5 separate regions of the Homo sapiens genome follow, and regions 1, 2, 3 and 5 are each linked to region 4. Evidence: promoter capture Hi-C in human tissues and cell types (Jung and others, 2019). All regions are on one chromosome and are shown on one strand. The core of a region is centred on a gene start or on the middle of the fragment in contact, and the rest is flanking DNA. Distances in the headings are between cores, read along the strand shown.

Region 1 (2,805 bases), core at 132-2,631, 110 kb after region 4:
TATAATACAAGTCTTCCAACTCATTATCAGGATCCGATTTCTTCTTAGCCTTCTCTAATTTATTGCAAAGCTTTATATTTTCTTTGTAGAGTTCTTTTCTCCAACTTATTGCTGGCTCCTTGCTATCAAAAATAGTATCTTCAAAAATTCATTTGTTGCCTCTTTACAAAAAGTACAATTGATTTCAAGTATAAATTTTTATCTAGCAAACTTGCTAAACTTATGTTAGTAATTAACTTCAAGATTCTTTTGGGTTCTGTTTTATAATCTTATCTGTGATTAAGATAAATTTTATTTTTCTTTCATATTTCTTTTTCTTGCCTAACTCAGTAGCTGAGACTTTCAGAAAAATGCTGAATAGGAGTGGCGATAGATTAGACAAATGCGTCCTAGATCTGAGTCGCTTCTTGGAAGACAGCTACTCCAAAAAGCCTATAGACCATAAGCAGACTGTGTATGAGCAAGAAATATACTTTATATGTTAAGCTCTTGAAAATGGAGTCTGTTAGTTCCTATAACATGTTCTGTCCTGACTAATATAACGGGATTAAAATAAATCTCTTCTATTCCTGGTTTGGTAAAACGTTTTTTCATACATGACTGTTGAATGCTAGCAAATGCTTTTTGGTACCTGTTGAGATGATTATGATTTTTCTTCTGCAGTCTGTTGAGGTGACAAGTCCTTTTTATTGTTTTCAGTGTTACACTTCCATTCCTGAAATAAACCCAAGCTGACCACAATATATTCTTTGTTGCTAGATTTGGAGTGTTAACATTTTGTTTAGGATTTTCACATTGATATTCATGACTGAGATTAGCTTCCTTTCTCATAGTTACTGGGCTTTAAGGTTTATAAAGCAATTTGGGAAGTACATCTTAATTTTCCAAAAGAGTTTCTGTGGAGTTAGATATTCTGTGCACATTGGTAGAACTTACCAGTGAAGTCATCTTCAATTCTTCCTTCATGTTCACCAGTTTTTCTTCCTAACGAAATGAATATCTATTCTTTTATAACTTAAAGATTTTATTTCCATGTTCACGGTTTCCATTTCATTCTGTTTCATATCTGCCCTCTGTTTTTTCTGATCTCCAGACTCATGGAAAGTTTGCTATCCCTTCTCAAAGAATAAAGAACGTTTTTAAGGTACTTTGCAGAATGCTTTATCAGGTTGCATCACATGAATTCTCATCTGTTGTGCCTTTCAGGTGTTTCTTACTGGATTTCCTATTAAGCTTTTATAATTTTTATGTGAAATCATCTTATGTGTTTTCATGGTTTCTCTAGCCTGTCTATGAGGGGTGCACAGTGTTGAATGGGTCTGAAACTTTTGTTGAAAATTTTGGGCTTTGTCATGCAGAGGAGGTCCATTCTGGATGCTGAGCTCCCTTGCAGTGCTGGCCAACTTTTCTTTCCCATCGCAGATGTTCTTTCCTCCTTGGCCGTAGGAGAGTATTACATTTCTGATCATATCTAGGGTTTGATGAAGGGATATTTTAGTTTTAACATTGGTCTGGTCCTAGCTCATTACTTCTTCCAGGGAGCTTAGTTCTGGTTGTGTCCCAAAGCATGCTTGTTGAAGCTAAACACAGTGGGGGCCACTCCCCATGGGCCAGAGGATTTCAGCCACTCACCATTATGTTTTTCTATTTCCAGACATGGAGATTATCTTCTTCTCAAGTGTGTTTGTGTAGATTTGATTCTTCCCACCCACATACACACACTATTTTCATGCTACTAGCCTCCCTGTGGTTGAAATGGAAAGAAGAGGGTAATCCAGTGGCTCATTCCCTCTTCTTCCCAGGGAGTATCATGTGACTTTTGTTTTAAAAACTTTGAGTCCTTTATTGGACTGAACTCATGAGAAATCTCTTATGACTAAAGTGGAGCATTAAAGTTAGGCTGAGCATTTCTCATGTCCATGATACTAGTTTTCGTGTACTATTTTACATGTACATATGTCACCTGTATTTTACATGCATCAAATTAAAAGTGAAATTACTAAAAGGCCAATATTATTACTAAAAAGAAAGATTTTCCTCCATTTTGATCTGAACTTTGTAGCAAATTTTTCCAAACCCTAAGTTTACTCCTTTGATCTAAAATTTTATTGCTAGACACTTAAAATCATGGCAGCAGGTTTAGAAATAGTAGTTGAAATACATGTAGGCAACTTAAACTTATTTAAATAGGACATGCCACTTTGACTAAGTGACAATTTTTAAATGATATTAATGCCTATGTGTGTGGATTAAGCTGTTTGTACAAGCTTGATGAAAATGTATGGCTATGATGCACACAATGAAGAATGCAATACTGGATGAGGAGTGGATCAGGGTGCCAGGCATCTTCAGCATCTCTTTGTAATTTTCCTTCCACTTGGGTTTATGATGGCTAAAAAGTTGTTTTGCTGATACTTAACAAAATAAGATATTTTGCCACTTTTCCACCTCTGACTGGAGAAGCTAGAATTTGAGGTACCTGAAAGTGGTTCTCAGAAAATCCCAATGGATTTGATTGAATATTCACTCATCCACCAGTTATTTTCTGAGTTTCTGGGACATGTGAAACCTTGAGCTTGATTTTGGGAATTCAGTGATAGCCCAACAGGATTCTTATTTTCAGGAGCCTGCAGTCTTGGTGGAGAGGCAGATAATAATCAGATGTTCACCAAATAAATGTAAAATGGCCAAAAATGTAAAATGGCCATTGTGATTTCAGATAGCATTGAAGTGCCATGAAGGTGATTACATGGGGGATAAGAGGGCTTGTAACAGAGAGACCTGGGTACCTTGGGAGTAGAGGTG
Region 2 (2,700 bases), core at 54-2,553, 92 kb after region 4:
TGTCACATCTGAGGAATTCCATCCTAAGGAAGTAAAAAACCAATCTGTGGGAGTTCTAATGCCTCTAAGGTCTCTCATGGAGTATGCAAAACATACACAAATGTGATCTCTGCCTTTGTCCGAAGCATTTTTCCGAAACAATGAATGGACAGTTAAGAATTAAGCGTGTTATTACTAAGAAAACATGACTTGTTTTGACAATCATTAAACTTTGGGGTAAATGGGAGTTGAATCGCAAAGCACCATAGGCGTTGAGATCATCGTGGTTGCTTGAGAGCAGTGACGTGCTTCAGGCAGAAATCTACAGTTCGGACATTCGAGCATCGCGATTTCTCTTGGTAGATTTCTAACTGAGGCCTAGCTCAGGCATTTCCCCCAGTGGAGCAGCTCACTTCCACCTTCACCTTTTCCTCCCAAAAACTGCTAGAGGGAGGATAGCTTATCCCAAGGCCACCCCTAGCAGTCGTCCACTTGGCTCTGGAACGTTTCTCTGGCAACAACTCAAGTACTTCTTATGTTTCAGTCTGAGGGTTTGCTGGGAACATGAGGTATTTTATCATCCACCAAGAAATGTTCCTTTGGGAGAAATGAGAGGCAGAGTCCCTGCAAGCTCTAGGTGGGTAGCCATCTAGGCTTTTGAGAGGTCAAAGAGGCTCCTTGTCATCTTTAGTTCCCCTGGTTTTCCAGCAAAGCTTTAGCATATGAGAGATGATCCAGGAACACCTAGTAATTATGCAGAATGGCTGACCAGTGGGGAATGCTGGCCAACCTAAGAGTTATCCACCTGGACCACATTCTTTTTCAGGCTCACTTGGCATGATGCCTCTGCCATAAAGCCCTTCTCCTGGTAGGGTGAGATGCCCCCTTTATTCTGTGCTACACCCCAGCTAGTTCATGCCTTATTCCAACCATCGACCCACCTGTTCTCTATAAGGATAAAACTTGTCATCTTCCTCTTGTTATCGCTGTGACTGGCTTTCAGCAAATAGAGGAAAGATCCGGCTTTGGTGTTCTTAAAGACTTTAGCTGTTCCCTAAAACATGTTGTAGAAGATGTTTTATCAAAAAGATCAAAGTTCATATCACTGCCAGACTCCTTCCTTCTCCATTTCTCCCTGCTGTGCCTCCTAGGGGGAGCAGCCTCTGTTAGGGCAGAACCACCAGCTCCTGTGTAACAGATGACACTCCTTCTGTGGGCACTTTTCCCAGCCTTTGCAATCAAGTCAGGCCAGAACATGCTCTCATGAGGGCATTGCTTTAATCTTCAGGCATGATGAACACGGTGTAGGTGGCAGTGACTGGACACTGAGCTCCCGTCTCCAGTTTGAGGTGGGCCTGGAGCTGCCGGATCCCCTACTGATCACTGGATAAGATGGGCATCTTGCCCCATTTTGACCCTACCTATCAAGCATCTTAGCAATAGCTGACCAAGAACAAATGATACATTTTAAGAGACTTGGCATTTGTTTATTAAAGTACATTTACTGCTAAGCCAACAAAACTAGACAGTGTACATTTCAGGTTTTGAGAAGCAGACATCCTGGTCTAATGTATCTCAAAATTATCCATCTGAAGAGTTGTCCAAATTGGACATTGAAACAAATGCCTATTGAAGCAATCACATACCATGGAAATTTCCTTCTTTACTAAATCTCCCATATCTGCTTGTTTAATTCACGTTTTTCTGTTACAGAAGTAGATGATCAGCTCTCCTTTTAAATACAGGTGACTGTAGCCACTTACTTAGTATGTTGGCTTATATCAAGGGAGTAGTAATTTGACTTTATTATATCTGATCAGTAACATGGACTATAGAGAGGGCCAGTTTGAGACCCTCATCTGCTTTTTTTTCCTGGATAGGTATCTCTGTTCTATGTGTCCTCCTACCCCTAGCCCTGTGAAAATGGAAGATGATGCAGCCTAATGGTTAAGAACTCAGGTGTGAAGTCAGACAGACTTGGGATCAGACTCCAGCTTCACATGCACAGGCTCTGCACCCTTGGACAACTGGCCAAACCTCTGTGTCTTGTCTTGAACCTATGAAGAGGGTAGCATGCTGCTTCCTGGCTCTCTCCATAACTGTTTTGGCCTTATGTGACCCTCCGTCAGCGAAGCTCTTATGGGGTGAAGAGGGGCCCTCCTTAGATAAGTTTTCCAGTTTCTTCTGCCTACTTTCTCCATTGGATCCTTCCTTATTTGCCTGCATAAGAGGAGATAAAGTACCAGAGAGAAACAACAGATACCTTTTCCAACTTCTCATTTTTTAAAAAAAGTAGAAGATTCTATCAGTGGTCACATGTATTTTGTGTCAGGCTTCCCACTTCATTTTTACAACAGCACTACAAAGGCATCCCTTTTGGATATGGAAACAGAGTCATCGAGAGGTTGAGGACCTTTCGGCCTGAGGAGGTCAGGACAGAGCTTCAGATGTCCACCTCCAACACTTGGCACTTCCTCAGATCTCCTTCCTAGCTGCTTTGTATCTTCCTCTTCTAATGTACTTGCCTGGTCTCCAGTATTTTAAAAAGGATAAGAGGTACTGTTTCTCCTAAAATAAAATTGGTGTGTCTCTTTATAGAAAGATAAGGGAAGGTTTTCTGGGGTGGGAGAAAGAAAGAGCAACAACTTTGTAGTAGGAAGATAATGCTAATTTCATTTTGTGTTCTTGCTGGATTTAATAACAACACAGGAACATATAATT
Region 3 (2,725 bases), core at 18-2,517, 70 kb after region 4:
GCTAGGCAGGTTGGTGGCCTAGAAAGCAGATTTGGGGAGCTCAGTAGTTCAGCATGGATTTTGTTCCACTTGAGAGGAAGGACTGGCACTTGGACATACAGGTCTGGGTCCTCGGGTGAGGAGCTGACTTGAATGAAGAAGCCCTTTCCCAAGGCTACTTGATTGTCTCAGGTTAGATTAGAAGGCCTGATCCCAGGTTTTGGAACGTGTTCTATCCCGTCATATCTTATGACTCCCATCCATCCCACGAAGCCATGGACATCGCGGTGGTTACAGGGAATGTCCATGGCAGCCCTGTTGGTCTGGAGCATGAATTGGACTATTGACATGATCAGGTAAAAAGCTGCCATCTTTAGGCTGGAAGAGCATTAAGATAGATTTTTTCCATCACCTCATGTCTCTTGGAGTAGGGGCAGTAAGACTGGAAGAGAAAAGTTAGGAAAAAATACCATTTTGTCCCAAGAGAATCCAATATAAGAAAAAGCATATTCTCCTTATTATTTTTAATGAAAAATAGTAGCTTCCACTTAGTGGATCCTTGTGTAATATTTACTAATTAAAAATAAAGAATATCCAAAAAGATGGAAGTCTGAATCTGGATTTCTTTTTTGAGGCTGGATATCACTCTGTTGCCCAGGCTGGAGTGCAGTGGCACGATCAAAATTCACTGCAGTCTCAGCTTGCCCCCAGGCTCAGGTGATTCTCCCACCTCAGCCTCCCGAGTAGCTGGGACTACAGGCATGCACCACCACACTCGGATAATTTTTTGTATTTTTTGTAGAGACGGGGTGTCGTTATGTTGCCCAGGCTGGTCTTGAACTCTTGGGCTCAAGCGATCTGCCCACCTTGGCCTCCCAAAGTACCCGGATTGTGGGCGTGAGCCACTGCACCTGGCAGAATCTGGCACTTAAAAATCCACTTTGAGTATGGTTTTCAATATGCCTGTATAAGCTTCCTAGGTTTGCTGTAACAAACTTAAGGCAACAAATTGTGTCTTAAAAAAACAGAAATGTATCCTCATAGTTCTGAAGGTTAGAAGACAGAATCAAGGTGTCTGTGGGGCCAAGTTTCCTCTGAAGGCACTAGGGGAGCATATCCTTGCTGCTTCCAGCGTCTGGGGGTTGCTGACAAGCTTTGGCGTTCCTTGACTTACAGCTGCTCACTCCAGTCTCTGCCTCTTCTGTCACATGGAATTCTTTCTGGGTTTCTATGAGTGTCCAGATTTCCTCCTTATGACACTATTCATTGGATTAGGTCCCGCTCTAAGCCAGTGTGACCTCATCTTAACTTGACGGCATCTGCAGAGACCATATTTCCAAATAAGAAATAACACCTATTTCTCCGGTACCAGGAAGTAGGACTTGGATATGTCTTTTTGGGGGACACAGTATTATCCACTCTGATACTGAAAGAAAAGAATGAGGTGTAAAAGGTGGTATAAACTAAGGAAGTATACTGCTTTGGCAAAATAACTCAGTTAAAATCGTTTTAGTAATTCATATTTCTTTCTCCTTTTGTAAAAATTTAGACTACATTACACAAATTTTGTCTTCTAATTTTTGACATTTCAAATGAGATTATATTCTGTATAATTACTCAGAATACGGACAATATGGTGTATATATCACTAGGAAACTAAGCAGGATTAACATGAGAGGGAGTGACTGGAATTTGCAGTATCTTCACAGTATACCCCATGAATTGCTGAACTGATGAATGATGGATTGTTTTATATTTTTATGAAATGAAGAGTATTCAAAAGAGTAGTGATAAGGAAACTGAGCTCTAGAACAGGATCATCAACTAAATCAACATGAACTAGTTGATCTCTACAACAGGATGGACACACAATCCCAAGACCATGGGCACAGTTGGGAAGCTTGTGGAGAGGCTGAAGACATGGTGACTAAGAGCACAAGTTCAGGACCAGGATAGTCCAAACCCAAGCTCTGCTGTGGAATCAAGGGCTCAACCCTTAACCCCTCCAGGCCTTGATTTTCCTGTCTGCAGAATGGGAACACTGTTCTTATCTCACAGGGCTCTTTGAGGATGTGATAAGTAAATTCCCATAGAGGTGGCATAGCATAGTAGATGAGAATGGATTCTGGAGTCAGAGGGCCACAAGGCCAGTCTTGGCCTTACCACTTGCTAGCTTTATGGCCTTGGGCCAGGTGATAAGCCTCTCTGGGCCTCAATTGCTTCCTCTGTAAAATAAGGATGATGCTAATACTCATTGTTAAGATTAAATGAGGTAAATGAGCTAACACTTGGGAAATTCTTAGAGCAGTGCCTGGCACAGAGTAAGTGGTATTTGAGTATTTTCCATATTGAAGTGTGGAATCAGTGCCAGGGCTACATAAGCCTGATAAGTGTTCATTGCTCCTGTCATGTTTATAATCTCCTCACCCTCCTGCCCCTGAAAATACCCCCATGTCAGCTGCCTTTTCCACATTTATCTGGATACTGAAAAATGCACGTAAAGGGACATTTCACCTTAAGGAAAGCTTGGACTTTCAAAACAGATGCATTGCGAGGTGGTTTACTTTACCAAAGGATTTACTGTGGGGTTCCATAAATAAACGAGTACTTTAAGGTGGAACTTTATTTACAAAACCAATTCCTTCTTTTCAGGAACATTTTGCTTAAAGCAAAATAGATACTAAGATTGGTCAAATTGAGTGCCCTCTGTTTATTTGTCCATCATAGATCTTGGACTATCCACTTC
Region 4 (2,700 bases), core at 74-2,573:
TCTTGAACCCGGCAGGCGGAGGTTGCAGTGAGCCAAGATCGAGACACTGCACTCCAGCCTGGGCGACAGAGTGAGACTCCGTCTCAAAAAAAAAAAAAAGTCAATGTGTATGTGATATGTGTGGTAATTCTCAGTTGACCAGCATATTCTGTATATCAAAATATGTGCTTACCTAACCAATTTACACACCGGTCACTTGTGAACAAGCCACCTTTTTACCTCGTTGTCCTGTGAGATGCAGAACCACGCATATTTTAGAGCTTAGGCATTAGAACTTTTCCTTTTTCAACTTATTTCTGGGCCACATCCACGTCCCCAGTTTCTCTGGAAAAGGCTGAGAAAACTCCTAAAGCGCAACAAAGTGTTAAGTTGCTGACACACGAATTACAATTAGGGTCACCGTCAAGGGAGCCGATTTACGGCCCCCCTCCTCCGTTTTCTTGTTACCTATCAACGCGGCTGCATACACTAGCAGGTAGCAGCACCTGTAATTAATTTGCCCCCACGTGTCTCATTTGATGGGGGGGGGCGTTTCCAGCTCTGATGTGCGCGGCGTGGAAACAGTATTAAAGCCGCTCAGGACAAGGAGATGTAAGGCTCCCAGAAAGACCTCCTTACTTGTTCCGAACTCGAGTTATGAAGAAGACAGCGCATGGTTTATTGACCAATGAAACAACCAGAGAACTTTCTTCTAAAGGTTTTAAGGAAGAGTGATTACACTATATAAATAGCGCTATTTCAGGTTTGAACAATTTGAGAGGCCCGTTGTAGCCTTTCAACTCCTCCTTCCTCACATAATCTAAGAGAAAAGAAGACTAAGATAGTTGCAAATCTCAGGGTAGGTCCTCACGGAGGAAAGACGAACACTGGCCTGACCCTGGGCTTTAGAAACCCATGGACAACAGGAAGGAAGCTTATTAACCCCTCTCTTCCCCCTCCCTCTTCTCCCCGGTGGAGAATCAGCTCCTCCTCCTCCCGGTCGTGAGACCCTGGTGCAAAATGCAAACAACCGCCCGCTTTCCCCACCCTGCGCGCTTCTCCCAGAGGAGGGAGAGGGAAGAGGCGAGGGCGCAGCCCCAAGCCGAGTCCAGCAAGTCTGTCAATCGGACGTGAACGTCCCGACGAGACAACTTGAACCTCAGGGCCCTCGCGCCAGCCGGACACCGCAGGTACCCCCTTTACCTGCTTCTCTGCTGGGTTTGCATCCGATACCCCAACTCCTAGCCTCATTTTCCCCCCAGCCCCATAATATTCCGGACCCCTGCTCCCCGTGCAGGTGGTGCAAACGCCCCTGCTCTCCGGCGCCCCCTGCCGGGAAGAGGGAAGGCGGCGGCGGCCGCGGAGGAGCAGGACGCTTGGTCCGGACGGAGCTCGGCGCTGGGAAGAAGCCGGGAGCTTCCCTGATGGTGCCGCCGCCTCCGAGCCGGGGAGGAGCTGCCAGGGGCCAGCTGGGCAGGAGCCTGGGTCCGCTGCTGCTGCTCCTGGCGTTGGGACACACGTGGACCTACAGAGAGGAGCCGGAGGACGGCGACAGGTAAGCGCTGCAAGCCCCAGCGGAGGGCGAGCTCCTGCTTGATGCGCGCCCGGCTCGCGGGGTGCGGGCGGTCCTCCCCGGCGCCCACTCCCACAGCGATCCGCACGCCCTCACTTCTCCGGGGATAAGGAGAGTGCTCAGCTGTCCTGGGCGACACTTCCCTCCGCTCCCGGGTATCAGCCTTTGCGCCCTGCCATCCGTGGGTCGCGTCAGGGATACCCTTCGCCCCGCGTTCCTGCCTCCCCCCGGGTGCCACACTGGCTGGCACAGCTCGTGAACCCCGCTTCCTTTCTCCTGGAGCTGGTTCGCTTCGTCGTGACCCTCGCGTGGCTCGTCCCTGTGGCCGGAGTCTGCCCCGCGTACGCGTTTGGGGACCAGCCCCTGCCCAGAGCGCCGGGACGGGGAGCCTGGCGATCCCCACGCGCCAGGGATTCCCCAGCGCGCGCTGCCCGCCTCCGCTCTCCCGCTGAGAATCGAACATTTCCTCTGCACTTTTTCATAGAGAAATCTGCTCAGAGAGCAAAATCGCGACGACTAAATACCCGTGTCTGAAGTCTTCAGGCGAGCTCACCACATGCTACAGGTAAGCCTGGGGGCTCTGCGGGCTGTTCGCCACTGCGCACCGGGGCTGGCTGGGGAGGCGGCGCTGTAAAGGAGGGGTTTGGAGACGCGCTTGGGACCGGAGCAGCTTTTACGCTGGAACCTGCTGGGTGCGTGCCGCGCGGTGCGAATCTTTGAGGGTTGGTTGGATCGGAGTCAGAGCAACACTGAGCAACTGACTTTGCGTCTAGGGTGTGTGCCCTGAGATCCTGAGGATGGTTGCCGCTCCCTGAAATACTTGTGTGGAAGTCTGTGAAGGAGATTGGATTGGATTTTGGGTGTAAACAGTGGGGCATAGCAAACACGGGTGGCTGCTTTCGTATTTGTGTTTTGTTTTGAAAGTACAGCGTCAACAAGGCAATTCTTGGCACTTGTCTGTCTTCTGACCTTCTGTTGGGGCAGAGTGTGGCTGTCACGGCCTCTGGACAAAAAAGTAGGGGGAGGATTGTGAGTGGTTGTGTTGAGTGAAAACAAAAAGATTGTTGGGGCAGAGGAAAAAAGTCTTTCTAAAAATGTGGGCCACAGATTCACCTGGGTATTTGTTAAATGAGTGACCCGGGTGCTTG
Region 5 (2,700 bases), core at 116-2,615, 82 kb before region 4:
TATTTTTCGTAGAGACAGGGTTTCAGCATGTTGGCCAGGATGTTCTTGATCTCTTGACCTCATGATCCACCAGCCTCAGCCTCCCAAAGTGCTGGGATTACAGGCGTGAGCCACCGCACCTGGCCACAAAATGTTGTTATAGTTTAGGTTTTCCTGTTATGCTTAGAAAGGACTTTCCTTTTCTGAGGTTGTAAAACAAAACTATTGTGTAGTTTATTGGAGTACTTTCTTGGATAAGCTTTTCAACTTAAATATTTGATCAGTCTGGAATTTGTAGTGTTGTCACTTTATTTCTCATGTGCTGAATTGTTCTGACATCATTCATTCAATAATGTACCTTTTCCCCATTTAAAATGCCGCTTTTACTAAACTCTAAATTCTTTTGTCTTTTGGGTGGCAGTATAGGTTTGTTTTCCATCCCTGTTGATTTACAGAGATGAGAAGATTTTTTTTGTAAGGTAGACTTTTAATAACTGCTTTTATTACCAGGTTAAGTCATGCAGTTACAAAGTAGTTAGAATTCTGAAAGGGCATTACAGGTTTTTTTTAAGCTCATTTTTGCATATATTATTATTTAGCATTTGACTGGGACACTACTGTTCAAAAGGACCTGGCCAAATAATTCCCAAACAAAACATTCAACCCAAGGTTGTTTTCAACCCACTGTTTGTGCACCTGGGTGCAGAATGCAAAGCCTCTAAAAGAAGAGGACACAAAGTCAGGCTGAGTAGAGGCCATTAGCAAGGGATGTTCAGGGCCAGCCAATCTCCAAACAGGGAACCCACTTTTTTTTTTTTTTTCTGGAACATTCTATTTGAATTATTGTTCAATTAGTCAACCATAGACCTTCAAAAGAGAACAATTTGTTAACATGATAAGGAGGTTACTGCATTCTTTGGACTATGTGTCATAATTATAGTCAGCAAACTCCGACCGTCTTCACAGAAATAGCCCTCCAGCATTTTTGTAGGTATGAAGATAATTTAATTCTCCATAGGGCTTCTTATTTTTGCTGGATAACAATACATGGCTGATAAGCTCTAAATGGTACTGTTTTATGATATAAAAATACTAGCTTTTTAAATTTATTATGTTTGTAGGCATTCACTGCTTGAATCAAGGTTAGGCTTGTTAAGAGATTAAAAGCAATTTTATTACAGCAGCATTACTTATTTTTTTCCAGAAGAATAAAATTAATAAGCAGAAACAGCTTTTATTTTTGTTTGCATCCTGTAAAATTGAGTTATTTTGCTTCAATAACTCATGTGAGGACCATGCCACCTTCTTTTTTTTTTTTGAGACGGAGTCTTGCTCTGTCGCCCAGGCTGGAGTGCAGTGGCGCGATCTCGGCTCACTGCAAGCTCCGCCTCCCAGGTTCTGGGAATTCTCCTGCCTCAGCCTCCCCGAGTAGCTGGGACTACAGGCACCCGCCACACGCCCGGCTAATTTTTTGTTTTTTAAGTACAGATGGGGTTTCACCTTGTTAGCCAGGATGGTCTCAATCTCCTGACCTTATGATCCGCCCGCCTCGGCCTCCCAAAGTGCTGGGATTACAGGCGTGAGTCACTGCGCCCGGCCCCCATGTCACCTTCTGAATATGTGAAAAGTTACAGCACTTCCCAGTCTCGTCCAGAGCAAAGAAGTAAGCATCTGATTGCTCTTGACTGTGCCTTCCCTGGCAACAGTTGCTGACTGTGTTGGGAAGAGCCACAGAGCAAGGCTGCACAGCCAGATGGAAGAGACTTTTCATTTAGAGGCAACACACCTACATGTCTCTCTCTCTGGTGTCAGTGATTTCTACTTTCACCGTCATCAGAGTGTACATGATCCCCTAACCTTAATTACTTTCTTCTTAGGGAGCTGATTTGGATCGATTTGTTAAGAATAGTGTCCATTATCTAATGAGTCAAGAGAGAAGGGGATTTCTGTGGTAACATGTAAACCTGTGGTAGGTCTGCAGAAGTTACAGGTGAAGAGGGTAGCAAGGAAGTCACCCATGAGCCATCTACGTGAAGGTCACTCTGGCTTCATTGTATACTTTGAACACTTTCTCAATGGCGTTGACATAGACGGTGGTCCTCATGTCCAATCCCAGGTTATACCTCATGGCTATGCACAAAATTTGCCTGGCAGAACTCTCCATTGCGTACACCAAGTCAGCATGCATGGTGTCTTTCTCTGATGCACCTGATATCCTGTCTTGGAACTCTGCTGTGGGTATAATGAGAATAGTTCCACTGTGCTTTCCAAATTTTCTTGCTAAATTCTCTTGAACAGATATTAGCAAGTGGTAGTTACACTCCCTTTCATATTTGAAGGTCAAACAGCCATAGCTGACATGATTTAGATTCTTCAGCCACTCAAAGTTGGATGCTGTCTCTCCTTTGGCATTCATGTAGAGATCTGGAATAACCATAATGCTCCTGACTTCATTTCCTCCCTGTCACACACACTCCTAGTTCTCCCATCTTAAAAACTCCGTCTCTGGACCTCACTTTGCCTCCTGCCTCTGCCAACTTCTCTCATTTTTTTTTCCATTAAGAAACCTTCTTGAAACAGTTGTTCATACGCACTGTTTTCACTTTTCCTCCTTCCATTCTTTCCTGAACCCACACACACTGGGCTTTGCACTCAATACGCCACCAAAACTGTCCTAGCCAAGGACACCAGTGACTCAAGGTATGATTTGCCCAGGACTGT

What was found. The method cuts DNA at HindIII sites, captures the fragments that hold promoters and counts their contacts. A contact is called where the count stands out against the background at its distance.
Region 1: a contact is called between a fragment that was not itself captured here and the fragment with the promoter of CCBE1 in region 4, in 4 of the 25 tissues and cell types used here (adrenal gland, hippocampus, mesendoderm cells and 1 more).
Region 2: a contact is called between a fragment that was not itself captured here and the fragment with the promoter of CCBE1 in region 4, in 2 of the 25 tissues and cell types used here (IMR-90 fibroblasts and lymphoblastoid cells).
Region 3: a contact is called between a fragment that was not itself captured here and the fragment with the promoter of CCBE1 in region 4, in 3 of the 25 tissues and cell types used here (H1 embryonic stem cells, IMR-90 fibroblasts and lymphoblastoid cells).
Region 5: a contact is called between a fragment that was not itself captured here and the fragment with the promoter of CCBE1 in region 4, in 2 of the 25 tissues and cell types used here (H1 embryonic stem cells and IMR-90 fibroblasts).

What each region holds. Positions count from the first base shown.
Region 1 is chr18:59,585,230-59,588,034 of GRCh38, reverse strand. All of the region lies in intron 2 of CCBE1 (collagen and calcium binding EGF domains 1), which reads left to right. Among named protein-coding and RNA genes, the nearest start is that of CCBE1, 110 kb to the left of the region's middle. The HindIII fragment of the contact is 3,937 bases long and covers 1-2,805 here.
Region 2 is chr18:59,603,589-59,606,288 of GRCh38, reverse strand. The region is part of intron 2 of CCBE1 (collagen and calcium binding EGF domains 1); the gene reads left to right. Among named protein-coding and RNA genes, the nearest start is that of CCBE1, 92 kb to the left of the region's middle. The HindIII fragment of the contact is 6,151 bases long and covers 1-2,700 here.
Region 3 is chr18:59,626,102-59,628,826 of GRCh38, reverse strand. The region is part of intron 2 of CCBE1 (collagen and calcium binding EGF domains 1); the gene reads left to right. Among named protein-coding and RNA genes, the nearest start is that of CCBE1, 70 kb to the left of the region's middle. The HindIII fragment of the contact is 3,769 bases long and covers 1-2,725 here.
Region 4 is chr18:59,696,046-59,698,745 of GRCh38, reverse strand. It overlaps CCBE1 (collagen and calcium binding EGF domains 1), which reads left to right and starts at 1,323. Exons shown (of 11, transcript NM_133459.4): 1 at 1,323-1,534; 2 at 2,037-2,117. The coding sequence starts at 1,404. The HindIII fragment of the contact is 11,314 bases long and covers 1-2,700 here.
Region 5 is chr18:59,778,298-59,780,997 of GRCh38, reverse strand. It overlaps the pseudogene GLUD1P4. Among named protein-coding and RNA genes, the nearest start is that of CCBE1, 82 kb to the right of the region's middle. The HindIII fragment of the contact is 3,410 bases long and covers 1-2,700 here.